7 separate regions of the Homo sapiens genome follow, and regions 2, 3, 4, 5, 6 and 7 are each linked to region 1. Evidence: promoter capture Hi-C in 16 types of primary human blood cells and fetal thymus (Javierre and others, 2016). All regions are on one chromosome and are shown on one strand. Each heading gives the region's core, a stretch centred on a gene start or on the middle of the fragment in contact. The rest is flanking DNA. Distances are from core to core; before and after follow the strand shown. Region 1 holds the start of MMP8 (matrix metallopeptidase 8). Region 2 overlaps LOC105369460 (a long non-coding RNA gene). Region 3 overlaps DCUN1D5 (defective in cullin neddylation 1 domain containing 5). Region 4 overlaps BIRC2 (baculoviral IAP repeat containing 2). Region 5 has its middle 81 kb from the start of BIRC3. Region 6 has its middle 38 kb from the start of BIRC2. Region 7 has its middle 6.1 kb from the start of BIRC3.

Region 1 (3,171 bases), core at 133-2,632:
AGCATGTGGCATGTAGTAGATGACAGGAAATGTTTACTGAATGAATGTAGGAATATACATCATTAACATTAATCTGCTGTCCAGATATGTTCTAACCCAAGACACCTTTCTTTGGATCATTTTCAAAGTTCCTAAGTGACCTCAGGAAAGATCAGAACTCCTTATCATAGCATCTCAAATACACTCTTTACATATTAATACATGCTATGTATCATACATGTAGACACATGCATTTATACACAAGAATACCTGCCTTTACCAAATATGTATGCATATATGTAAATGAGTATTCACAAAGACTGTGTATGATAACAAACTACATGCATGTGGACTCAGAATAAGTGGGACCAGGTTACATGATTTGAAAAGCATGCCCAGGGGCCTCTGACAAACAGTCTCCTATGTAGCCATATTGTCTGGAAATCTCTCAGTGTCTTACTCCTTGAAGATGTACAACATCTCATTCTCCCTCTCCCTTGTCTTCTGCCTGTGAATATAAGCCAAAGTATCCAGCTGTTGAAGGCCTAGAGCTGCTGCTCCACTATGGCCCAGCCAGAGACTCAAGTGGGAGACTACCATGCAGAGCTTATAGTAGCTCCCAGCTCAGTCTCTCTAAACATACCCTCTGGGGTTGAATCCTGGCCCCTCCACAAATGAAACATGTGACTTAAACAGGTCATCTAAATGTCTCTGGATTTGATTTCATCTGTAAAATGGAGATAGTAATAGCATCTCCCTCCCAAGGCTATGTGAAGATGGATTGGGGTAATATGTGGAACACAGTACAAATGTCTGGGCAATCATAATTTTTTAGCAAATGTTCATTATTATCATCATCAGTATTGTTCTCTTTATCTTTTCCATGGAAAGTCTAACTTATAGACTAGGGATTTTCTAATATGTTGATACCAAACCACATCCTCCAGAAGCAGCTCTAGGCCCCATACAAAGCCTGCTTTGTAATAACACAGTCACTCATTCTCTCCACATACAATGAGGGAGGGTAAGTACAGAGATTCTCTAGTTGGGCTCCTTGGTCCCAAGATATCTACCACAAACCTCAAAATATTCCCCTGCATAAGTTAATTCAACCTCAACATCTTACATAGTCAAAAAATGTATCCACATAACTTCAGGATTAGTCCCTTGTTCCTTTTCCTCAACCAATTTTGTAAAAGGAAATAACTAAAACATCCAAAAGCAAAGAGTAGAAAGTTGGAGTTTTGAAAGACTGTTGAAAGACTCCCCCATTTGGGGGTACTAAATCACATTATAAAATTGCAAAACTGTCAGAGTGTAATTAACCTATGTTGCTTCATATTCCTGATGCAGCAATTGTTTAAGACATGGCTTTAAAGAGGACTGCAAGAGAGCTGTGAGTGACACATGATGCTGTGAACGTCAGGGTGCTCGCCAGGGAAGGGCCCTACCCAGAGGGACAGAAAGAAAGCCAGGAGGGGTAGAGTTTGAAGAGAAGATCATGTTCTCCCTGAAGACGCTTCCATTTCTGCTCTTACTCCATGTGCAGATTTCCAAGGCCTTTCCTGTATCTTCTAAAGAGAAAAATACAAAAACTGTTCAGGTAAATGAACTATCAGTTAGGTGATGTTTGATTTGCTGATTATTAGGAAATAGTGTGGGTTGTTTTCTCTTGTTAATTAAAACAGCCTGAAAGAAATTATTTGGGTGATTAGTTTGAGATTGAACATCTCCTTTTAGTGATTTGGAGGGTTCCAAGCTGGTAAGGACTAGGCCTTTTAAAAGCCGGACATGAAAACAAGCTGAATTCTTTAAAGGCTGGGAAAATACTGCTGTAGAGTTACCCCTAGTTGGGAAACTTTTGTAGAAGAAATGGTTTTATTTATAAAATGGTATCATTTTCTTTCTCATTTACCTAAGGTTTTTCCTTCCAGGATATCTGCAATCAAGTTACTATATGTCTGGTGCTTCCATACAGGCATTTTCTTTGCCGCCAAAAATTCCAGATATAGAAAATAATGTGAGGATGGTAGATTACAATGAACTAGAAATCAGTACACAGTAAAATCATATTTCCCAGCATCAGATTGTGGACTGTTTATAAACTCTTGGAAGCATTATAAAAGCAGAACCAATAGTTTTTTTCCATTGTTTCACAGTCTGAAAGTGAACCCAAATTTTTAAGAAACACAAGGGAATTCTGTCACAAATCTCTCATGCACAGTTTTCTTAGCATTATAGTTTGGAGAAAGCATTATTATTATTAAGAGGTTATCTCTTAATTGTAACCCCCGGGTTAATGTAAAGTCCATTGAGTGCTTATTCTATGCAAGGCAACTGCTACACATTTCACAAATATCTCATTTAATCCTCACAAGAACCTTATTGGAGCATTATTATTTTCATTTCAGAGACAAAAATATCTTAAATCAGATAAATAATGTGGCCAAGTGCTCACAGTTAATTCATGGCAGAGTTAAGATTTGAACCCAGGCCTGTCTGATTCCAAAGCGTGTGATCTGGTCAGTGTCACCTACTGCTGTGGTTAGAGTGTGTCCCTTGAATTTATGTGTTAAAGATTTAGTAGCCCATGTGACAGTGGGTCCTTTAAGAAGTACTTAGGTCATTAAGAAAGATTAATGACACTCTTGTGTGACTGGATTAATTTTTGCTGGAGTGGGTTCTGGCTCTTGCAGAACTGGATTAGTAATTAATAGAATGGGTATTATAAAGAGGGGCTGCCCTTTGTGTTTTGCCCCTTTTCACACATGCTTGCTCCCCTTTTGTTTCTCTGCCATGTTATGACACAGCACAAGGCCATCTCAGAAGCCAACCAGATGCAGCCACCTGATCTTGGACTTCCCAGCCTCCAGAATTGTGAGAGAAAATCAGCCCCTTTTATGTATAAGTTACCCAGCTTCAGATATTCTGTTATAGCAACAGAAAATGGACTAAGACACTGACAAGGTGCCAGGTGTTCACAGGCAGCATGAGGTCTAGTTAGGTTACATTTCACTGTGTATGAAGAAACTTTTAAGCCAAACTTAAAATAGGTAATTTTTAGGCTAAACTCTTTGGATTTTGACTAAATTTAACACTTCCAAAGAGTTACTTTGGTGAATAAAATGCTAATATCAATGATATTGCTGTTCCCCTAAAAGATATTTGAAATTATTTTGAAATTATCAGTTC
Region 2 (3,553 bases), core at 66-2,565, 440 kb after region 1:
CCCAGGTTCAAACGGTTATTCTGCCTCAGCCTCCCAAGTAGCTGGGATTACAGGTGCCCGTCACCAAGCCCAGCTAATTTTTCATATTTTCAGTAGAGACAGGTTTTCACCATGTTGGCCAGGCTGGTCTCGAACTCCTGACCTCAGGTGATCCACCTGCCTCAGCCTCCCAAAGTGCTGGGATTACAGGTGTGAGCCAATGTGCCCGGCCTAATTTTCTTTTTAATTTTGTAGAGATGGGGTCTTGCTATGTTGTCCAGGCTGGTCCTGAACTCCCAGGCTCAAGCAATCCTCTAGCCTCAGCCTCCCACTGCTGGGATTACAGGCGTGAGCCACCATGCCTGGCCATTGGAAACCATATACTAAGGGGTGTGGAACAAGCTTGGGTCCCTGATGACTGTGGAGTTGCTCTATCAATGCTGGACCTCTTTATCACAAAAGAATAATAAGAATAAACATTTTCCTTGTTTATATCACCGATATCTGGGTGAAATCTACTCCAAATTGCAACAGTTACTAAAGGCTGGGATTAGAATCTGAACCCAAACACATATGATGTTAAAGTCTCACATTCATTCCATTACCTTGCCAGCTTCCCTGACCATGGAAGCAGGTCTGCAACAAGCCCTGGCTCAGCCACTAACACACACAACAAACAAGTACCGACTACAATATATAGGAGTCATATGCTCTTCTAGGTTCCAGCATACAACAGTAAACAAAGACAAAAATCCCTGGGATTTAATTAATATTCTAATAAGGAATGATATACAATTTTTTAAAAATATGTAAAATGTAGGCTGTGTTAATGATAAATACTATAAAGCTAAATAATGCAGAAAATGTAGATAGGGAATGCTAGGAAGAAGGGTTTCAGGATTTGTTGATTTGTTTTTATTGTTTTTGTTTTGTTTTGTTTTTGAGATGGAGTCTTGCTCTGTTGTCCAGTCTGGAGTGCAGTGGTGCGATCTCGGCTAACCACAACTTCCACCTCCCAGGTTCAAGCAATTCTCCTGCCTCAGCCTCCTGAGTAGCTGGGACTACAGGCGTGAGCCATCATGCCCAGCTAATTTTTGTGTTTGTATCAGAGATGTAGTTTCACTATGTTGGCCAGGCTAGTCTCGAACTCCTGACCTCATGATCCACCCTCCTTGGCCTCCCAAAGTGCTGGGATTATAGGCGTGAGCCACTGCACACGGCCTTGCTAATTTTCTGTATTTTTAGTGGAGACGGGATTTTGCCATGTTGGCCAGGCTGGTCTTGAACTTCTGACCTCAGGTGATCCACACACCTCGGCCTCCCAAAGTACTGGGATTACAGGTGTGAGCCACCACACCCAGCCCCTGAAATTTGAATTGAAGACAATTTTTAACATGTCATGAAATGTTATCCTTTTGATTTTTTTTTTTTGCAGCCATTTAAAAATGTATCTTAACATTCTAGTCAAAAACAAAAACAAAAACAAAAACAAAACAGGCAGTAGACTGGATTTGACCTGCAGGCTGTACTCTGCTAACCCCTGCTTTAGACAGATGTACATTTATTCAATTTTTTTCTTAACTTGGTACATTTTTTTAAATGCATGCTAATGATGAACTTCTTAAAGTTACAGTGCTGGTATCTTGACCCACCAAAAAAAAGTGGTTGCAAATCATAGATCCAAAATGTATTTGAGGCAGAAGATTGTTCAGAACAAAAATCACTGAAAAGATACATTTTTAGACATAGCTCCTTTACAATTACTTCTTGATAGACAATGGAATTTAACTCTGCACTTACATTCTAATTCTACTTTGACAACGGAACCATTGGAAAAATGTTGGCGTATATTTCTCCAGTTTTGGTTTTATATTTTCTTTATAACTTAAAAAATCTAATTATCATTCTTTTTTGAGAAGGCACTCAATAAATGCTTTTTGAATGAATGATCCAGTCTGTTAAAACTGAAACATTTGCATTCACCCTGGCTTAGGCAAAATTGTAATGAAAGTTATCTTGAACATGCACAGTCTGCGTTTTTCTCTCTATACGGTATGTCTTCTATTAATGTTGTTTTTAAACAACCTTTTCCCTTTCCTTCTCTTGCTGAGATCTCAATACCCTTGCGATCCCTTCCACTTTTTATTAAAACCTGTGCTTAGGGTGAATAAGAGCGTTACTCTTAGAATATTGTAAATAACTTCTAGCAGCAAACTGTTTTACTACACTGTTGGGCTCATTTGCATTTTAATAGAATGAATGAAGCTTTGCATCTGGCATGTTAATACTCAGGGAGCCAACAGGTGGGGAAAACATTTCTTCCAGGAACCTCAGGTAAACTTCTGCTTCAGAAATCATGTCCCATAAGAAGTCACCTCCTTCACCTATGAGGAAAGACAACCACGCTGTCACTGGGCGGAATGGTCACAGCTGGCCTGTGGTGGAATCATGCATTGTAACAGGCAAAGGCTCCAATCAAGCCTGTCCTCTACCCTAGATCTGGGGCTGATAGCATTCTGCAAGAACAGCCACAAAATAAGAACAGGAATCATCTGCACTTTGGAAACACCAACACACTGAGACCTGTTTTGGAAAAAAACAGTGTCTGAAATGGAAAGCTTAGGGGAGACACTTCAAACTCAAAGAACTCCCTGCTGAGATTTTAAAGCCCCACCACATAAAGAAAAAACCTTGACGTGTTTGACTAGCAATTGACAATTTATGTAAAATATCAACTTTCATATCACCAATATTTATATCGCCTAACTTTTATAAGGAACATAAAATATACACATGACTATTCGACCTGCCAAGAAATGATAGCTTGGTATACTGTCATTGGCCTTGGATCATCGCTTGAATTGAGCAACATAATTCAGAGCACAGAGTCTCCGACTCACGGGGAATATAAAATTCTTATCCAAGGACAATGTAACCCGCTTGCAAATATAATAGCGCACGTGCAATTCATCGCGTCTCTCTTTCCCCTTTTGTTCATTTGCTCTCCACTAGAGGATGTGATCTCTGAAACTTTGCTCTTTATGCCGATGGTTTGCAGGGGACTGAGTGAGAATGGGAGCTGAAAGAGAAACAAGACCTTCGAGTTCTCACATTACATTATACTTTCCAACCGTTTGAAGTTAGTGTAACCCTTTGCTAAGTACTTGGCAAACTTTAAACTATACATCTGTGAAGCTGGGTTTTTTTTTCCTTCACATTACCTTTCACCTACTTTAAAATAAACCACTCATTGTTCAAGAGGGAAAAATCAAATTTGTTTTTCCAAAGTAATCTATAATGGAGTAAAACATTGTTAGAAGGTTTGCAATTAACTAATTTACTGTGCAATAAATCTCAGAGGGAATGTAAATTAATGAGGAAATCACTTTTTACCTTCAATATTTAGGCTTCTATTTTCTTTATTAACAAAACATAAGCTTTTTTAAATTGGAAAAGTATATGAAGTTGATTTTTAAAATGTTTACACCATGGAGAAACATAAAATTAAAGTGAAAAAGTAATAGCTCATTTTCTTGTATATCTGGGTTTGTTTGGGTATTAAAATAATGAAAGC
Region 3 (3,535 bases), core at 978-3,477, 350 kb before region 1:
GCGAGGAATAAGATGCAGCTTTTGTCCTTTAGTCATATTCTACTAGGTCAGGGAAAACATTACAATACTGTAACCCAGCCAACCTTTTTGGCACCAGGGATCAGTTTCGTAGAAGACAGTTTTACCATGGATGGGGCTGGGGAGAAGGGAAGGATGGCTTTGGGATGAAACTGTTCCACCTCAGATTATCAGGCATTAGATTCTCATAAGGCGCATGCAACCTAGATCCCTCGCACGCACAGTTCACAATAGGGTTCGCATTCCTGTGAGAATCGAATGCCGCTGCTGTTCTGACAGGAGGTGGATATGCTGGCTCACTCGCCTGCCGCTTGCCTCCTGCTATACAGCCTGGTTTCTAACAGGCCACAGGCTGGTAATTATGCTCAGCCCAGACATTGGGCACCTTGCTGTAACCATAAACCAAGGAGAACGTGACATGTGCTAGAGTGGAAATACAAGATACTATGAAAGCACAGATGAGTAAGGTTAATTTCAGCTGAGTAGGTAGGTAAATGTAGGTGTGGCCTGTGAACTAGAACATGAAGAATGATTAGGATTTTGTTTGTTGAGGATACAGGAAAATGTTTCAGAAGAGGGAAATTGTGAGCAGGACCTTGAGGAAGGAAAGCATATGTTTGAAGGAAGTAGTTTGATTTCTTAAAATTGTAAAGTACATAAAAAAATTGCCAGGATAGGTTTTGAATTCTAATATTTTGAGTGATGGCTTCACTGTAGAGTGCTTTAGCTAATACGTTGAGAGAGTTTAAATCTATGTTACAGATATTGGGAAACCATCAGAGATTTTAAAGCACAGGAATTTTAAAAGATTTGGGGGATAATTTTCAATGAGCAATTGTTTTTAATATTTTAAAGTCACAGTCTCTTTTGAGAGTCTTATGAGAACTATGGACCTCGTTCCCATTAAGAGGCACATGTACTGCTAGACACAAAAATTTGATGTGCTCTCAGGAGGTTATGGAATTTCTCTTCCTTCGTCTATAGATACGAGGTTTCAAGGATACTTGGCGAGTTTTTGTTCTGGCATAGTGTACTAGAGTGGAGGTCTTTTCTCATATCTGCTAGCTGAAAGTCTGGTGTTGGAGCAAGGGTGAAATACTATACCAGTGGAGAAAACTGAATATAGACCTTTGAAGAGGACCGTACTTGATTATGATAATGAAAAGGACAAGACAAGAGCATCTGACAACAGTGATAGTAATTAAGCTGCCTGCCGGTAGGTTGCAGTTTGTAAATCTAGTCTCTATTGAGCCCCGGACTTTGAAGTGTAAAAGGAATGGCATGGCTTGACCGTCTTAGCGAGAGGGGAATAGGGAACATTTATATGATTTTTTTTTTTGGTGGGGGTGGAAGAGGAGAGTAAATGAAATGCCATCGTGTGTGATGTGACTGTCATTCATTTAGCATTTGGGGCCCAACTACTAATTGCCATTAGCATCCTTTCCCTCTGTTCTCTCTTAAGGTCATTATGACAATTTCAAAATGCCCCTCTGCACATTTTCAAATACCCCTAGAAGTAGATGGTATTGTTCTGGTTGAGAAAGCTTATTTAGAGGAAGTTCTAAATCCAGAACTTTGTGACACAATTCTTCGTGTTACACATCAATGTGTCACAGCACAGTCACTGGGACTTATGGATTAGGAAGAGAGCCTCACTTACATCTAATACATGCATGAAACTTTCTTCTCACTTTAAAGGTCTTTAATGAAACACAAGTTCAAAAGCCTCCCTTTGTAATCAGTTGCTTAGCAATACCAGGAAATTAATTTCCGAGTCCTAACGTTGAAATTAATACCCATTTCTTCTCTTTCTAACTACAGTGGCCTTGGAGAATGGTGTATTGTATTGTGCCAGTGTTCCCTCAAATCTGTGTGGTTTTATTTGGTTGTTATTTGGAAAACTATCTCTTGCTTTCCATAGTACGCTAGTTAAGTATGCATTTCTTTTTATTTCGGAGGAAATATTCTTTTTTCTAAACTTCCCAATTTCTGAGGTATTGATGTTAGTATTTTGGAGCTAGATTCGATATAAAAATTGTATTGCTGTTAGTAACTGCTTCGGTATGTTGGTTTTGCCAGATGTGTTCACAGTCTTCATGATACTGTTAATAAATATGGAGGTTTGTGCTCTTATTCTTTTTTTTTTATTTGAGACGGCGTCTTGCTCAGTCTCCCAGGCTGGAGTGCAGTGGCGCGATCTCGGCTCACTGCAAGCTCCGCCTCCCGGGTTCACGCCATTCCCCTGCTTCAGACTCCTGAGTAGCTGGGACTACAGGCACCCGCCACCACACCCAGCTAATTTTTTTTGTATTTTTAGTAGAGACGGGGTTTCACCATGTTAGCCGGGATGGTCTTGATCTCCTGACCTCGTGATCCACCCGCCTCGACCTTCCAAAGTACTGGGATTACAGGCGTGAGCCACCGTGCTGGCCTATTCTTTTTTTACTACAAAAAAGTCTGTTGGATTCTTTCTCTGCTCAAGATTTACAGTAGACCATTAGGAATGGTATGACGTAGTTTCTACCAAGGTGTGTAGTGTAGGTGATTTTTAATCCATTTGCCTCAAAAGAAGCATATCAAGGACTGTGCTAAGCATTTAACACATGGATTCTCATTTAATCTTTATGGTTGTCCTATGAAATTATTATTGTTACCATTTTAAAAATCAGATAACTGAGGCTGAAAAAGGTTAAGTAACTTGCCATATAGTTGTCCTATTAAATTATTATCGTCGTTTTAAAAATGAGGAAACAGGCTGAAAACGGTTTAGTAACTTGCTGAAAGCCACATGACCAGAAATAGAGAAGCTAGAATTTTAACCAATCTGTTTGACTTGAAAATTTGTTCTTCCCTTCACTTTATTTCTTAAGCTTATTGAAATTACATAAGTAAGATAGTAACTTTGTGTACCCATGAAATGTAAAATATTTGGAAAATATTATAATATCTTGGATTCTTATCTCCTTAGTGACTTCTCAGTCACTATGTGCTTTGTGATTTTGTTTGATCTACCATTTACCACTAAGTTTCTCCCAGATAGGAATTTTGAAACATTATATAATTAAATAAATATATCACCTACCCTGTGGTTTATTTTTGGTGGTCACACTTTTATTTAACAAATATTTTTGGAGTGCTATATGTCAGGTCCTGTGTTATGCTATGACAGTGATTTTTTAAATCTGATGGTAAGGAAAGAAAGAACTTTGAATGTCAGGAGGCATCCTTTATCTTCTTTGCCCCCTTAACACTTAAGTCTCAAGCCTGTTAAGATTCTGTGTGAGATTTTGTATGAAAGATGTGACTCACATTATGAAGACTTCATCTCCATATTTTCAAACATTATAGTGGCATGTAATCTGAGAAATTTGCTTTGCATATCCCCATGGTAGAAGTCAACTTTCATTAAAGCATTATTTTTCACATAATGAATAATTTTTGCACTAACAGAAACCACTTAGTGAAATAGTAGGTAATGAATTTCTAATAAGTAAGAATAAATTTTTCTTGTTTCCTC
Region 4 (3,256 bases), core at 405-2,904, 360 kb after region 1:
TAAATGATACTATACAACAGAATATTCATATGTTAAAAAAAAGGAACACTGACCTATGCCCATATTATATGCAAAAATAGTAAAAATGGATCATATACCTAAATATAAAACCAAAAACAATAAAACTTCTAGGAAAAAGCCTTGTCTTTATTTGTCTTTACATTGGGTAAAGAATTATTAGACAAAAGACCAAAAACATATTCCACAAAAGATAAAATTGATAAATTGACATCATCAAAATTGAAAACATCTGCTCTTCAAAAGACAATGTTAAAGAAATGAAAAGCCGCAGACTGAAAGTTTGCAAGAGTGACATCAGCAAGACAGCAGACTAGGAGACATCAGCCTTCTTCCACCCACAAAAAACAACAAACAGACAGCTATACACAAATACAGCTCTGGAAGAACTCACTAGCCCAATCAGCCTACAGCAATAAAGGGAAAAAAAAAAAAAAGGGAGAATAACCACACAGAAAGGACTGCTGGGAGATCTGCTTAGCAGAGACATCTGGAGATGGCTAAGAACAAGGGGTGAGGGCTACCTGTATCAGTCATGTGGTGAGTGCCATTACAGTCCTCAGTGGCAAAGACTGCTAGGCTCCTCCCCAGAGCAGGTCCCTGGAGACCTCCAATAACCCTCAAGATAGCCACAGACTTCCTGCAGGTTTCACAGTGAAGGACCCTATAGTGTTCATTGATGCCAACCCCAGTAGCCTACTTTGCAGAGGACACTGACAGCTTTCACCATTAAGGTAACCAGCACCCATTGCTGCTGTGAACCCCCTGGAGAGGGAGACACTACTGCACTCCTCACCCTGAAAAAAAGCAGCTCTTGCACTGCCCAGACAGTGCAGCCCCTAACCCCCACATATGCCCCAGACCCCAGAGCCACAGCTGCTTCACATGTACCTTCATGTAAGACCTTTGCTCTGTGGCTGCTCTAATCACACACTCTCCAGATCCCAGCTCTCTGGCTGCTCTGCACACCTGCACTCCGCACCCAACTCAAAGGCTGCTCTACGTGCACCCACATCTGAGGCACTAGAAGCACCACTGCTGCAGGCTAGTCAACATCCTGAACCCAAGACCCGCTGTCTTTCTGCAAACACTTGCACTCCAAACCTTGGCTCTGTAGCTGCTCCACAGGTGTCCACGCCATCAGAGACATCAGTGCTGCCACCTCCACCAACACAACAAGCCCAAAGCCAGAACCTGTGCCAAGAAGAATCCCCTTGGCCACAATGTCTCCCATGGGAGAAAAAGTGATGAAGAGGTCCCCAGCAGCCTCTGCCACTATAGACTAAAAAAAGCCTTGCTGCTGGTATGGATACCTGCAGCCTTGGATGTTGAGGACCCCTGCAATCCTCACTGACAATGATCTGGGCTAATGGAGCTGCATGGAGTTCACAATGCTGGGCCTTCCACAGAGCCAGAACCACCACACCTACTGGCTGGCGCCCTCACCCTCACCCTCACCCACAGGCAAAGATCTTTGCCCACAAAAAAAAAAACAAAAAAAACACACTAATCTGTAATGTCTAGAAGTAATTCGTCCATCAAATACACAGATAACACAAGGCCACAAGAAACAGAAAGAAAAAAAAAAAAAGAAACGTGACATTAGCAAAGAAACTCAGTAATTTTCCAGTAATCACCCACAAAGAAATGGAGATCTATGAACTAACAGATAAAGAATTCAAAATAATTGTTTCAAGCAAACTCAGTGAGCTACAAAAGAACACAGATAATGAAATAAAAAAATATATACAAACAAATGAGAAATTCAACACAGAGATAGGAATAATAAAAAGAAACAAATTCGGGAGCTGAAGAACATAACAACAAAAAATGCAATAGAGAGCATCAATAGCAGACCTGATCAAGCAGAAGAACCTGTGAACTCAAAGGCAGATCATGTGAAATTATCTAGTCAGAGGAGAAAAAAAGAAAAAAAAAAGAATAGTGGAGAAAGCCTACCTGAATTATAGGACACCATCAAGCAAAACAATATTTGCATTTTAAGAATTCAAGGCCAGGCACGATGGCTCACACCTGTAATCCAGCACTTTGGGAGGTTGAGGCGGGTGGATCACATGAAGTCAGGGGTTCAAGACCAGCCTGGCCAACATGGCAAAACCCCGTCTCTACTAAAAATACAAAAATTAGCTGGGCATGGTGGTGCACACCTGTAGTCCCAGCTACGTGGGAGGCTGAGGCAGGAGAATCACTTGAACCTGGGAGGTGGAGGTTGCAGTGAGCTGAGATCATGCCACTGCACTCCAGCCTGGGTGACAGAACAAGACACCATCAAAAAAAAAAACCCAAGAAAATGAAAAACAAACCCGAGAATTCAAGAAGGAAAAGAGAGAAAGGACAGAAAGCTGATTTAAAAAAAAAATGCTGAAAACTTCATAAATCTAGGGAAAGATATCCAGGTACAGGAAGTTCATAGGACCCCATAAAGATTCAACCCAAAGAAGACTTCACTGACACACATTATAATGAACTGGCAAAAATAGAAGATGAAAGAGAATTTTAAAACTGTAACAGAAAAGAAACTCATCTTCTACAAGAGAAACCCTATAAGACCACAAGTGGATTTCTCTGCAAAAACCTTGTAGGCCAGGAGAGAGTTGGATGATATATTCAAAGTGCTGAAAGACAAAACTACCAGACAAGAATATGTATCCCAGCAAAGCTGTCCTTCAGAAATGAAAGAGATATAAACAGTCCCAGACAAACAAAAGCTGAGGGAGTTTATCACCACTGGACGCGCCTTACAAGAAACGCTGAAGAGTTCTCCAAGCTGAAATGAAAGGACACTAATTAGCAACATGGAAACATATGAAAGTATGAAACTCACTGTTAAGATAAATATATAATCAAATTAATAATATACTAAATTTGTAATGGTCATGTGTAAATTACTTAATTCTAAAATACAGGTTTTTAAAAAAAAGTATTAAAAATAACTATAGCTTCAATAATTTTTTCATGAATACACAATATAAAATGCAAATAATGACATCAAAAACATAAAATATGTGCAGGAGGGTCTGAGTAACAGTACAGTTTTTTAATGCAATTGAAATTAAGTTGTTAGTGCTTGAAACAGACTACTATAACTATAAGATGTTCTATGTAAACCTCATGATAGCCACAAAGTAGAAACCAATAGTAGATGCACAAAAGATATAAAGGAATCAAAGCATACCACCACAGAAAATCATCTAAACACAAGGGAAGACAGCAAGAG
Region 5 (3,663 bases), core at 374-2,873, 490 kb after region 1:
CTCACTACATTGTGTGAACTAACTTCAGCACTTAACAGTCTTACCTTTACTCTTGGTAAGCTCCCTGAGGAAGTTACCATGCCACTTATTACTCAAGTTGGAATATGTTCCAAGTGTGTTTGTTGAGCAAATGTACATGATTTTTTAAAATGGATGGAAGATCTAACCTGTTACAGCATTGTCCTATTGTTGTGGCAATTTTCCTAGGATTCCCTCTGTGTGGAGAGCAAAGTCCTACCTGCAGTGGGGCCAGAGGTAGGGAAGCTCATAACTGAGAAGACAATTTTGAGCCCCAGGGAATACGGTTAGCCTTGTATACAGAAAGCATTTTCCAGTTATGGGCTACCCCCTCAACTTCTAGTCATCTCACAGCCATAGTGTGGGATTTAAACCTAGGTTTGAGGCACACAATTAGGAATTGTAATAATTATGTCTTATTTGATCTTGGTATGACCAAACAAGGAGATCATATGTGGGAGCATCTCAGTAATTACAGAATATTAAAATACTGAAAAACAAATAGCATACTTATAAAATTGAAGATGGTGTGCATCTTAATGACAGAACAAGACAGAGCCTCATGTACTTATGCAGATGCCCTGGGTAGACCTACTCAAGTTTGAAGGACTATTTTGAATTATTCAATAATACTATGTCTTTAAACAAGATGATATTGAGAAAAGGTCATAGTGATTTTAAAATACAGTATCACTTTTAAGGAATGTTAACGGTTTACCAGTTGCTTTTATAACACTTTGATCTTCTTTATCAGTGTCTTGAGATAGTGCAAATTGTAGTACGTTCACTTTACCCCTGATGGAGAAAAAGTCTGAGAGACTCCAAATCCCACAGTAAGTGATGGCAGTGGGACACCAACTTAATTGGAATAATCTGCCTTTCAAATTTGTCATAGTGACCAGGATAGAACAACAAAACTATGAGAACACTGGAGATGTTCAGGTATTGAGAATTTTTCTTCAGTGATTTTGGAAGACTGATAGGGATTTAGTCAAAGTTTTAGCTCAAATCAGTGGAAAATTTCCTCAGCAACATCCTGAATTTGGGGTAGGGTTTGCCACTGCATTCCAGATAAAGATGTGGCCTCGAAGGTGAGCTGTGAGTTGGCTGTTAAGCACCCGTCACCCCCATCCCCGCCCGCTGCCCCTCAATGAAGCATCAGCTGTTTTCTGAATGACACTAAATGGGCTTAGGCTGGTTTTCTGAAACTCCCATAGCAGAATTCCACAGAAATTCCTTTGGCCTAGAATACAGAAAAGCTATGCTGTCTTTCAATGATTTGGACTGTAAAAGAACAACTAAATCTCAAGTCCACATTCTTCACTGGGCAGTCCCATTTGGGATTATTTTACAGGGCTCAACAGACTTACTAGTGCTCAGAGACAAAACACCTCAGCAAATGGCCTCCTTTTGGAAGATGATGCACATGTGGTTTTTGTGGTGTGACTTCAAATTACCTAACAGTCTGGCTGTCCCTGAATATGAGCCATTGTATCTCTTATAAAATCTAAGGTCTTAATTCACGGTCATCCAAGTGATCAGTCTTATCTAGTTGTGATCCTAGTATCATTTAGAATCCACTGGGCTACAGCCCATGAGGCAGATGCCTCTGCTGAACTCTGCCTGCAGATGTGTTTACCTCCTCTTCCTTTTTTTTTTTTCCCCCTGAGACAGAGTCTCGCTCTGTTGCCCAGGCTGGAATGCAGTGGCGCGATCTCAGCTCACTGCAACCTCCGCCTCCTGGGTTCAAGCAATTCTCCGTGCCTCAGCCTCCCCAGTTGCTGGAATTACAGCTGCCTGCCACCGCAGCCAACGAATTTTTGTATTTTTAGTAGATACGGGGTCTCACCATGTTGTCCAGGCTGGTCCTGAACTCCTGACCTCAGGTAACCTGCCTGCCTTGGCCTCCCAAATTGCTGGGATTACAGGCGTGAGCCACCGTGCCAGGCTTTACCTCTTATTCAGTAGAAAAAAGTGCCAAATACAAGTTGCTGAGAGGTTCCCTGAAGGAGGAGGAAGTGTCTTTAGCTAGGTTTCCCAATGGCTGCATCACTAGTGAAGCTCAGCTTTGAGTAGCTGGCTTCAGTAGCTCTTGGTGATAGCACTGATAGACAGGAGATTTTCTCTCAGATCCTGCCATTTAATCCAGATCCTTGAGAAAATTAGTTCAAGTTTGCCAGATATGCTATCATTTTAATTGTGTAAATCCACTGTAACATAAAAACCCGATTTGAAACAGAACAAATGCTTTAAAAGGAACTGAGATGTGGGGCACGGCGTGGTGGCTCAGGCCTGTAATCCCAGCACTTTGGAAGGTGGAGGTGGGCAGATTGATTACTTGAGCTCAGGAGTTTGAGACCAGCCTGGACAACATGGTGAAACCCCACGTCTCTACAAAAAATACAAAAATTAGCTGGGTGGGTGGCGCAAGCTGCTTGGGAGGCTGAGGCACGAGAACTGCTTGAGCCCAGGAAGTGGAGGTTGCTGTGAGCTGACATTGCGGCACTGCACTCCAGCCTGGGTGACAGAGCGAGACCCCGTCTCAAAAAAAGAAAAAAAAAAAAAAAAAGAACTGAGATGTGGCTTCTAATAATATCCCAAGTAAAATTACAACCAAATGTGAAGTTTAACTCATATTTTATATAGATTCTATGAAGGTCGTGGGAACTATAATTCCACAAAAATATACCTGGGACAAGATGTAAGGAAACGTGGGGAAAGGTATGTCACAACCCTAAGAAGTTTTTACAAGTTCCTTTTACAAAAAAATCAAGCCCTGTCCACTAACTGAGTGCAAACCAATACCAATTTCACAAAGTTACAGTACCTCTAGTTCTTGTTTCTTTAACAGTTAAAGTTTGTTTTTAAGTTAACTAGACTAGGTGTTCAAAAATTTTACAGAAGTAGACCCTTTGCTAAGAGGTCTCCAAATAATTGCTTTCAGTGGCAAAGATACTAGGTTTTTTGTTTCTAACAGGATCATAGCAGCTTGTAAGTCAGGTCACTTTGGGAGTTTTGTTTTTTGTTAAAATACGGCAGACTTTAATTCAGAATACCTTTTCAGTGTCATTTTGTTTTGCTCATGTCTTGATTCTGCAACTGTTTTCATTTGTGGCAGTATTAAGGCTATGTTTATGGTTAAGAAATTATCCATTTTACCTATGTCAGAGCTTTTTGTGTTCAAGGTAGCAAAACATATTTTATGTGTGACTTGGAAAAACTGTAGTACTAAATGTCACCGACTTCTCATCTGAATTTTAATTTAGTAGTTAAGCTTTAAATCAAAAAAGATTTATCACAAAGTTCTCATGGCTAAAAAAGACTAAGTGCCAACAGTTTAAAGTTGAATAGGGATGACATGGCAGACATCCTGCCAGAGCTACTGTTGATTCCAACAGCGTTAGCACATGTGGAACCCCGGAGCCAGGAATTTACCCGCAATAAAGCCAGGTTTTCTGTCAGTAAAACTGATGATTACAGAAGCAGGGAGAGTCTGGCTGCCATTAGAGAAGGTAAGAAAACATCATCAGCTCCTTGGGGCTGCCTTTCTTTTGTAACCTCAGCTGTCAAGAAATGGAAATCGGGGTTGGGGAATTAAACAAAACCCCCAGTCTACCGATCACTTCTGCAGTAGTCACCTAGGTT
Region 6 (3,201 bases), core at 424-2,923, 340 kb after region 1:
TAAGTTCCTATTTTCTTTCTGAGAAACTGGATTTGTCAGCCTCTTTCTTTGGCCTCACAGCTCCTCAGCTTTACCTACTCACTATGGAACAAAACTATAGTATGGAGATTCCTCAAAAAATTAAAAATAGAACTACCATATTATCCAGCAGTCCCACTTATGGGTATTTACCTAAAAGATCTGAAATCAGCATGTTGAAGAGATATCTCTACTCCCATGTTCATGAATATATAAAGAAAATGTGGTATACATACACTATGTAAAACTATTTAGCCTTAGAAAAGAATGAAACCCTGTCATTTGTGATAACATGGATGAACCTGGAGGGCATTATGTTAAGTGAAATAAGCCAGGCACAGAAAGACAAATACTGCATGATCTCACTTATGATATGGGAATCTAAAAAAGTTGAACTCATAGAAGCAGAGACTATAATGGTGGTTACCAGAGGCTCTGGGGACTGGGAGTTCATCAAAGGATATAAAGTTTCAGTTAGACAGGAAGATTACATTCAAGAGATCTACTGAATATCATGCTGACTATAGTTAACAACAATATGATGTAGACTTGAAAACTGTTGAGAGTAGATTTTAAGTATTCTGACCACAAAAGAAAATGAGGTAATGCGTATGTTAATTTTCTTCATTTAGCCATTCCACAGGGTATACATATGTCAAAACATATTATACAATATGTAATAAAGTTTTGTCAACTTTAAAAGTTTTTTTTTTTAAAGTACATAGCACAATGAATCATCACAAAGTGAACAAACCTATCTAACTCCCGCTTAGGTCAAAGACTAGAACATTACCAGCACTCCAGAAGTGCCCCTGGTATTCCCAACCATTCTTCCCTAGTTGTTAGATAACAACTGACTTTTAACACCATAGATTAGTATTGCCTGATTTAGAACTTTATAAAGCAGAATCAAGCTTCTTTTGCATATGGGTTCATTGCATTTAATTTCATAGGAAAACTAAATTTCTGTTCTATGCAAGGAATCAATATATGGTATATACAATCTACATTTTCATTAAATGTTTATAGCCAAAACCAGTTTTCATTATATCCTCTGAAAATGCTTCAAATAAATGTTTATTTTTGATCCTTGCAAATGTTGTGTATGAGAGTGCAGAGAAACCAACAACTTCTGAAGAAATAATGCATACTAAAATGAAACATTTGATAAATACAAACATTTTATGCCTACTCTGCTATTGTGTGATCATACAGATTAGTGGGCTTGTAGTAGAGGTTAGAACCCAATTTAACAGACATCTCCGGATATAAGCAGCTGACAACCTCACAAAAAAGAGGAAGACAAGTTGGAAATCTAAGATTAAGACCTGGAAGATTTCTATTGTGAACATAAAGAACTCAGCTTCCTTCTCTTTTCCTGCAGCTATACCCATCCATCTGATACGGAAGGGGGCCAGGGAAGTGCTGGAAAGGGAAGGGCTTGGTCCCTTCAAATGATATGGAAGTGGGGAAGGGAAGTGCTGGGTAGAAGAGGGCGCAGTCCCTGGCTAGGGTTCCAACCCCACGGACCTAGGTGAGGACAGGCATTTTTGTTTTCCTCCCCAAATGTTGCATTTCCCAAGACCACCCTGGCCTGCCACAGCCCCATCCTGTGCCTATAAAAACCCTGAGACCCTAGCAGGCATGGAACAGGAATTAAAAGAAATGAAGGAATGTGTAAGCAGAAACTCAGTTGTATGTAAGAAAACCCAGTTCCCCCTGAGAAAGACAAAGAGAAAGAGCTGGAGTCCTTTAAAAATTAACTGCCTGTTTTTCTGTGGCTAGTGAGCCTTATCTCTCCTCCTTTCCCAGGCATTGTGAAGACCCTGTTTCTCTGGCTGTGCAGCTGCAAGGTCAATAGACAGATAAACTCAAGTCATAAAACATGTTTTTCCTTGAAAAGTAATAAATGATGTAATGCATGTCTCAATTAATTAAATAACTGTCTTTGTTTCTCGCTTCTGTAATATGCTTCCCCCTGAAGAGATCTCCCCCCACCCCAAGAAATGCTTAAAAGGTAACTTAACTCTTTGTTCAGGGCTCAGTCCTTTGGATGTTAATCCGACTAGGCCAATGCATCTAAATAATGAATATCCTCCTCAACCCCATCGGTCTCTCTGATTCCTTATCAATCCCGCCACAGGCAGACAAACAGGCAGCTGGATGTCGAGAGGGGGCACATGAGCAGAGGAACACACAAGCAGCTGGACGTCAAGAGGACATTGAGGGGAGCACGCCAGCACACCAGCAGGCCATCAACCAGCGGAATGAGGTGGAGAGTTTGGCTGGGGCAGTTGAAGGAGAGCCCGGACCGCCGAGCGGCCAGACTCCAGGGGAAAACCATCTCCCTTCTGGCTCCCTCATCTGCTGAGAGTTACTTCCACTCAAAAGCTTACACTCATTCTCCAAGCCCATGTGTGATTCAGTTCTTCTGGTACACCAAGGCAAGAACCCTGGGATACAGAAAGCCCTCTGTCCTTGAGATAAGGCAGGGGTCTGAGCTAACACGAGCCACCTACGGACAGCTAAACTAAAAGAGCACCCTGTAACACATGACCACTGGGGCTTCAGCTGTAAAAATTCACCCCTAGACCCTGCCATAGGGTCAGAGCCCTACAGCCTGCCCATTGGTATGCTCCCCTAGAGGTTTGAGCAGCGGGGCACTGAAGAAGCGAGTCACCCTCATCGCATGCTCTGCAAGGGGGACAAGGGAACTTTTCCTGTTTCACATCCTAACCCTCTTCCTTCTCATCTCAGGAAAAGATGGCCTTTCTGTGCAAAAATATCTAGATTTATCACCTCCCAGCTACTCAAAGACTTTTCCCCTTTCTATTAAAACATTAATCATAATCACTTTAAAAAAAATTTTTTAAGAACCAGGTAAAGTGCCACCTCTTTTACACAGAACTTTTACCACGCTTCAAACCTGTTCGTTTTCTATTTTTCTTCTATTCCTTGTTCTCTGCTGCTAGTGCTGCTGCTTCAAAAAGTTGAGAGGAAGGCATGTATCAAAAGGTCTCTCAGGACATGTTGTTCTATCCTGTTTCTCTGCTGTGGGATCAGGAATGGAATTTCCAGGAACCTCCAGTTCTCTGCACCCAAGGGTATATAAAAGGAAAAAAATCAGCTGATAAGGAACACTTCCTAACTCATTCTATGAGACCAGTATTACCCTGATACCAA
Region 7 (3,625 bases), core at 136-2,635, 410 kb after region 1:
GCTCAGAACTCTGACAATTCCTGAGAGCGGTATGCTCTCAATATCCTATTATCAAATAATCAATTTAAAAGTATTTTTCCCTTGGGGGAATTATTATTAAAAATATTTTTTCTCTGGAGGGAATTTCGCATAATGTTGTAACAACTTTAGTTGTAGCCTAATGCTTTTTCACTGTAAGTTTTTAGATTTTTATGTATAAAGAAACCCAGGAATCTAGAACTGAAAGTGAAAGTGAAATCTTACAGGGAACATACTGTTCTAATTCCAAAGCAAATCTGAGAGTCCTTGTAAATGTTGACAATTTCCTGGTCTGTTGATAACTTTCTAACATCTTGCAAATAAAATACAATTACACCAGCCTTGAATAAGTGCTAACGAAGATCAAATTTACAAAGAAACCTCCTCTAATGTAAAGCTTTAGTCAAGATAATGAAGTTTACCCCTCATAAATGGTGGCTTACTTTATTTTATACTGATAGTACTCTAATAAAATATAATTTATATCATGTAAAGTACACAGATATTAAAAGCGTATAGCTTTATGATTTTGACAAATGAATGTACTCAGTTAACTATCAACCAGATCAAGATCAAGAACACCTTCCATTACCTCAGAAAATTCTTTCATGCTCTTTTGCAGTCAGTACCAAGCTATAATGCCCCCACCACCCCTCCCCCTCCCACAATCACTATTATGATTTATCACCCTAGATCTCATTTGTTTGTCCTTGAACTTCATACAAATGAAATCATATGATGTGTACTCATACTGGCTTCCTTCACTCAACATATTTCTTAGTTTCATCAATATTGTAACATGTATCAGTAATTTGTTCTTTTTATTGCATAGTAGTATTCCACTGTATAAATATACCATAGTTTCTTTTATTTTGAGACTGAGTTTTGCTCTTGTTGGCTAGGCTGAAGTGCAGTGGCGAGATCTCAGCTCACTGCAACTTCCACCTCCCGGGTTCAAGCGATTCTCCTGCCTCAGCCTCTTGAGTTGCTGGGATTACAGGTGTGCACCACCACGCCCAGCTAATTTTTTGTATTTTTAATAGAGATGGGGTTTCATCATGTTGGCCAGGCTAGTCTTGAACTCCTGACCCCAGGTGATCCACCTGCCTTGGCCTCCCAAAGTGCAGGGATTACAGGCATGAGCCACCGCGCCTGGCCTACCATAGTTTCTTTTTCTGTTTTCCTGCTAATGTACATTTGTGTTGTTGCCTGGTTCAATCCCTTGTGAAAAGAACTTATAAACTTTTTTTTTTTGAGACAGAGTCTCACTTTTTTGCCCAAGGTAGAGTGCAGTGGTGCCATCTCAGCTCACTGCAACCTCCACCTCCCAGGTTCAAGTGATTCTCGTGCCTCAGCCTCCTCGGTAGCTGGGACTACAGGCTCGAGTCACCATGCCCAGCTAATTTTTTGTACTTTTAGTAGAGATGGGGTTTCACCATGTTGCCCAGGCTGGTCTTAAAGTCCTGAGCTCAGGTGACCTGCCCGCCTTGGCCTCCAAAAGTGCTAGGATTACAGGCATGAGCTACCATGCCCAGCCCAGAACCTATAAACATTTTAGATTTTTTTTTCTTTAATAATATAGATGAGGTCTCACTATGTTGTCCAGGCTGGTCTCAAACTTCTGAGCTCAAGCTCAAGTGATCCGCCCAACTCAGCCTCCCAAAGTACTAGGATTACAGGTGTGCCCAGCCATTGTGCCCAGCCCATTTTAGTTTTTCTTTTGGTGAACCTATGAATTCTTCCTGTTGGCTAAATACCTGGATACGGAATTGCCATTGGGTAGGTGTATGTTTTATTTTTATTAGAAATTGCCGAAAGTTTTACAAAGTCTTTGCACCATTTTACACTCTCACCAGCAGTGTATAAGAGTTCTAGTTGCTACACATCTTTCCCAAGGCTTAGTATTGTGAGCCTTTTTAAGTTTAGCTCTTCTTTTGGGTATGTGGTGGCATCCCATTATGCTTTTTTCTATCCCTGTTGATTAATGATGTTGACTATATTTCCATATGCTTCTCGACACTTTAGATATCATATTTTGTGAGGTGCCTGTTCAAATCTTCCTCCAATTTTTAAATTGAATTGATTGACTTCAGGGAATTCCTTATATACCCTGGGTTGAGTCCTGTCATTGACATGTGCACTGTGAACAGTTTCTCCCCATTTGTAGCTTGTCTTTACGCTTCATTAATAGTTTCTTTTGATAAGTAGAATATTTTAATTCCATGAAGTCCAACTTATAATATTTTTAAGTTCAGTGTGTTTTATATCATGTTTAAGAACGCTTTGCCTATCCCAAGATTATGAAGATTTTCTTCTATATTTTCTTTTAGAAGCTTTGTGATATTCACTTTTCTATTTAGGACTATTGAAATGTAAAAAGGGCTGGGCGCGGTGGTTCATGCCCGTAATCCCAGCACTTTGGGAGCCCAAGGCAGGTGGATCACGAGGTCAGGAGTTGGAGACCAGCCTGGCCAATATGGTGAAACCCCGTCTCTACTAAAAATACAAAAATTAGCCAGACGTGGTGGCGTGCGCCTGTAGTCCCAGCTACTCGGGAGGCTGAGGCAGAAGAATCGCTTGAACCCGGGAGGTGGAGGTTGCAGTGAGCTGAGATCGCCCCACTACACCCCAGCCTGGGTGACAGAGCGAGATTCCGTCTCAAAAATAAATAAATACATAAATAAAATAAATGGAAAAAGTTCCCTTGTCCCCCTCGCAGGGCTTGCGACAGACGGAATGGCTCACTTCTTCAGTGCCCTGCTGCTCAAACCTCTAGGGGGCGCATGCAGACGGGCAGGCTGTGGGGCTCTGACACCACTGCAGTGTCTAGGGGTGAATGTTCAAGCTGAAGGCCCAGTGGGCGTGTGTTACAGGGTGCTCTTTTAGTTTAGCCATCCATAGGCGGCTTACGTTAGCTCAATTAGACCCCTGGCTTATCGCAAAGACAGAGGGCTTTCTGTATCTCAGGGTTCTTGCTTTGGTGTTCCAGAAGAATAGGATTACACGTGGGTTTGGAGAATGAGTGCAAGGGTTTATTGACTGGAAATAGCTCTCAGCAGATGGGGGAGCCAGAAGAAAAATGGTTTTCCTGTGGAGTCGGGCAGCTCGGCGGACCTGGGCTCTCCTTTGACTGTCCCAGACAAACTTCGTGTTGTTCAGCGGTCAATGGCCTGCCTGCCTGCTGGTGTGCTCCTACGCCGTTGAGTTCCCCTTGATGTCCAGCCACCTGTGTGCCTGCCTGCTAGGGTCTTGGGCAAACATTGGAAAACAACACAAGATCATTCAAGTCAGTGTCTTCTACTTCTTTCCGCAATTCCGTAAACTGGCACCGATCCATAGCATTTGCATGCATATGTTGCGCAACTTTCATAACTGTATCCACTACGCTTTCCATGAGCCTGATTCAGAACACTGAGCACAAATGTTTTCAGTATGTATTTATGATGAAAGAAAGAAAGGGACACATCAATCTTTTGTTTTAAAATTTCCTAAATTCATATCTAGCTGAAACTCTTCTTTGACAATATTAAAGGTTCAAATATTTCTATACCATGAGTTTGACCTTTTAGTTTTACATGTTGGCAACATTTCATAAATTTGGAAGTTC

What was found. The method cuts DNA at HindIII sites, captures the fragments that hold promoters and counts their contacts. A CHiCAGO score of 5 or more calls a contact.
Region 2: a contact is called between a fragment that was not itself captured here and the fragment with the promoter of MMP8 in region 1, in 4 of 17 cell types (M0 macrophages, M1 macrophages, monocytes and 1 more). The highest score is 17.6, in M0 macrophages.
Region 3: a contact is called between a fragment that was not itself captured here and the fragment with the promoter of MMP8 in region 1, in 4 of 17 cell types (M0 macrophages, M1 macrophages, monocytes and 1 more). The highest score is 8.3, in M0 macrophages.
Region 4: a fragment that was not itself captured here is called in contact with the fragment with the promoter of MMP8 in region 1 in 4 of 17 cell types (M0 macrophages, M1 macrophages, monocytes and 1 more); the score reaches 12.6 in M0 macrophages.
Region 5: a fragment that was not itself captured here is called in contact with the fragment with the promoter of MMP8 in region 1 in 5 of 17 cell types (M0 macrophages, naive B cells, M2 macrophages and 2 more); the score reaches 5.8 in M0 macrophages.
Region 6: a fragment that was not itself captured here is called in contact with the fragment with the promoter of MMP8 in region 1 in 2 of 17 cell types (M0 macrophages and M1 macrophages); the score reaches 9.0 in M0 macrophages.
Region 7: a contact is called between a fragment that was not itself captured here and the fragment with the promoter of MMP8 in region 1, in 4 of 17 cell types (M0 macrophages, M1 macrophages, M2 macrophages and 1 more). The highest score is 17.7, in M0 macrophages.

Annotation. Positions count from the first base shown.
Region 1 is chr11:102,723,165-102,726,335 of GRCh38, reverse strand. It overlaps MMP8 (matrix metallopeptidase 8), which reads left to right and starts at 1,382. Exons shown (of 10, transcript NM_002424.3): 1 at 1,382-1,582. The coding sequence starts at 1,481. RefSeq lists an enhancer at 976-2,175. The HindIII fragment of the contact is 5,644 bases long and covers 1-3,171 here.
Region 2 is chr11:102,279,338-102,282,890 of GRCh38, reverse strand. It overlaps LOC105369460 (a long non-coding RNA gene), which reads right to left. Exons shown (of 5, transcript XR_007062863.1): 5 at 1,652-3,058. Among named protein-coding and RNA genes, the nearest start is that of BIRC3, 36 kb to the left of the region's middle. The HindIII fragment of the contact is 1,863 bases long and covers 384-2,246 here.
Region 3 is chr11:103,075,833-103,079,367 of GRCh38, reverse strand. All of the region lies in intron 4 of DCUN1D5 (defective in cullin neddylation 1 domain containing 5), which reads left to right. Among named protein-coding and RNA genes, the nearest start is that of DCUN1D5, 15 kb to the left of the region's middle. The HindIII fragment of the contact is 1,326 bases long and covers 1,565-2,890 here.
Region 4 is chr11:102,359,040-102,362,295 of GRCh38, reverse strand. All of the region lies in intron 3 of BIRC2 (baculoviral IAP repeat containing 2), which reads right to left. Among named protein-coding and RNA genes, the nearest start is that of BIRC2, 13 kb to the right of the region's middle. RefSeq lists an enhancer at 796-845. The HindIII fragment of the contact is 5,897 bases long and covers 1-3,256 here.
Region 5 is chr11:102,235,031-102,238,693 of GRCh38, reverse strand. No RefSeq gene overlaps it. Among named protein-coding and RNA genes, the nearest start is that of BIRC3, 81 kb to the left of the region's middle. The HindIII fragment of the contact is 3,342 bases long and covers 1-3,294 here.
Region 6 is chr11:102,383,916-102,387,116 of GRCh38, reverse strand. No RefSeq gene overlaps it. Among named protein-coding and RNA genes, the nearest start is that of BIRC2, 38 kb to the right of the region's middle. The HindIII fragment of the contact is 1,477 bases long and covers 935-2,411 here.
Region 7 is chr11:102,309,526-102,313,150 of GRCh38, reverse strand. No RefSeq gene overlaps it. Among named protein-coding and RNA genes, the nearest start is that of BIRC3, 6.1 kb to the left of the region's middle. RefSeq lists an enhancer at 2,639-2,933. The HindIII fragment of the contact is 1,936 bases long and covers 418-2,353 here.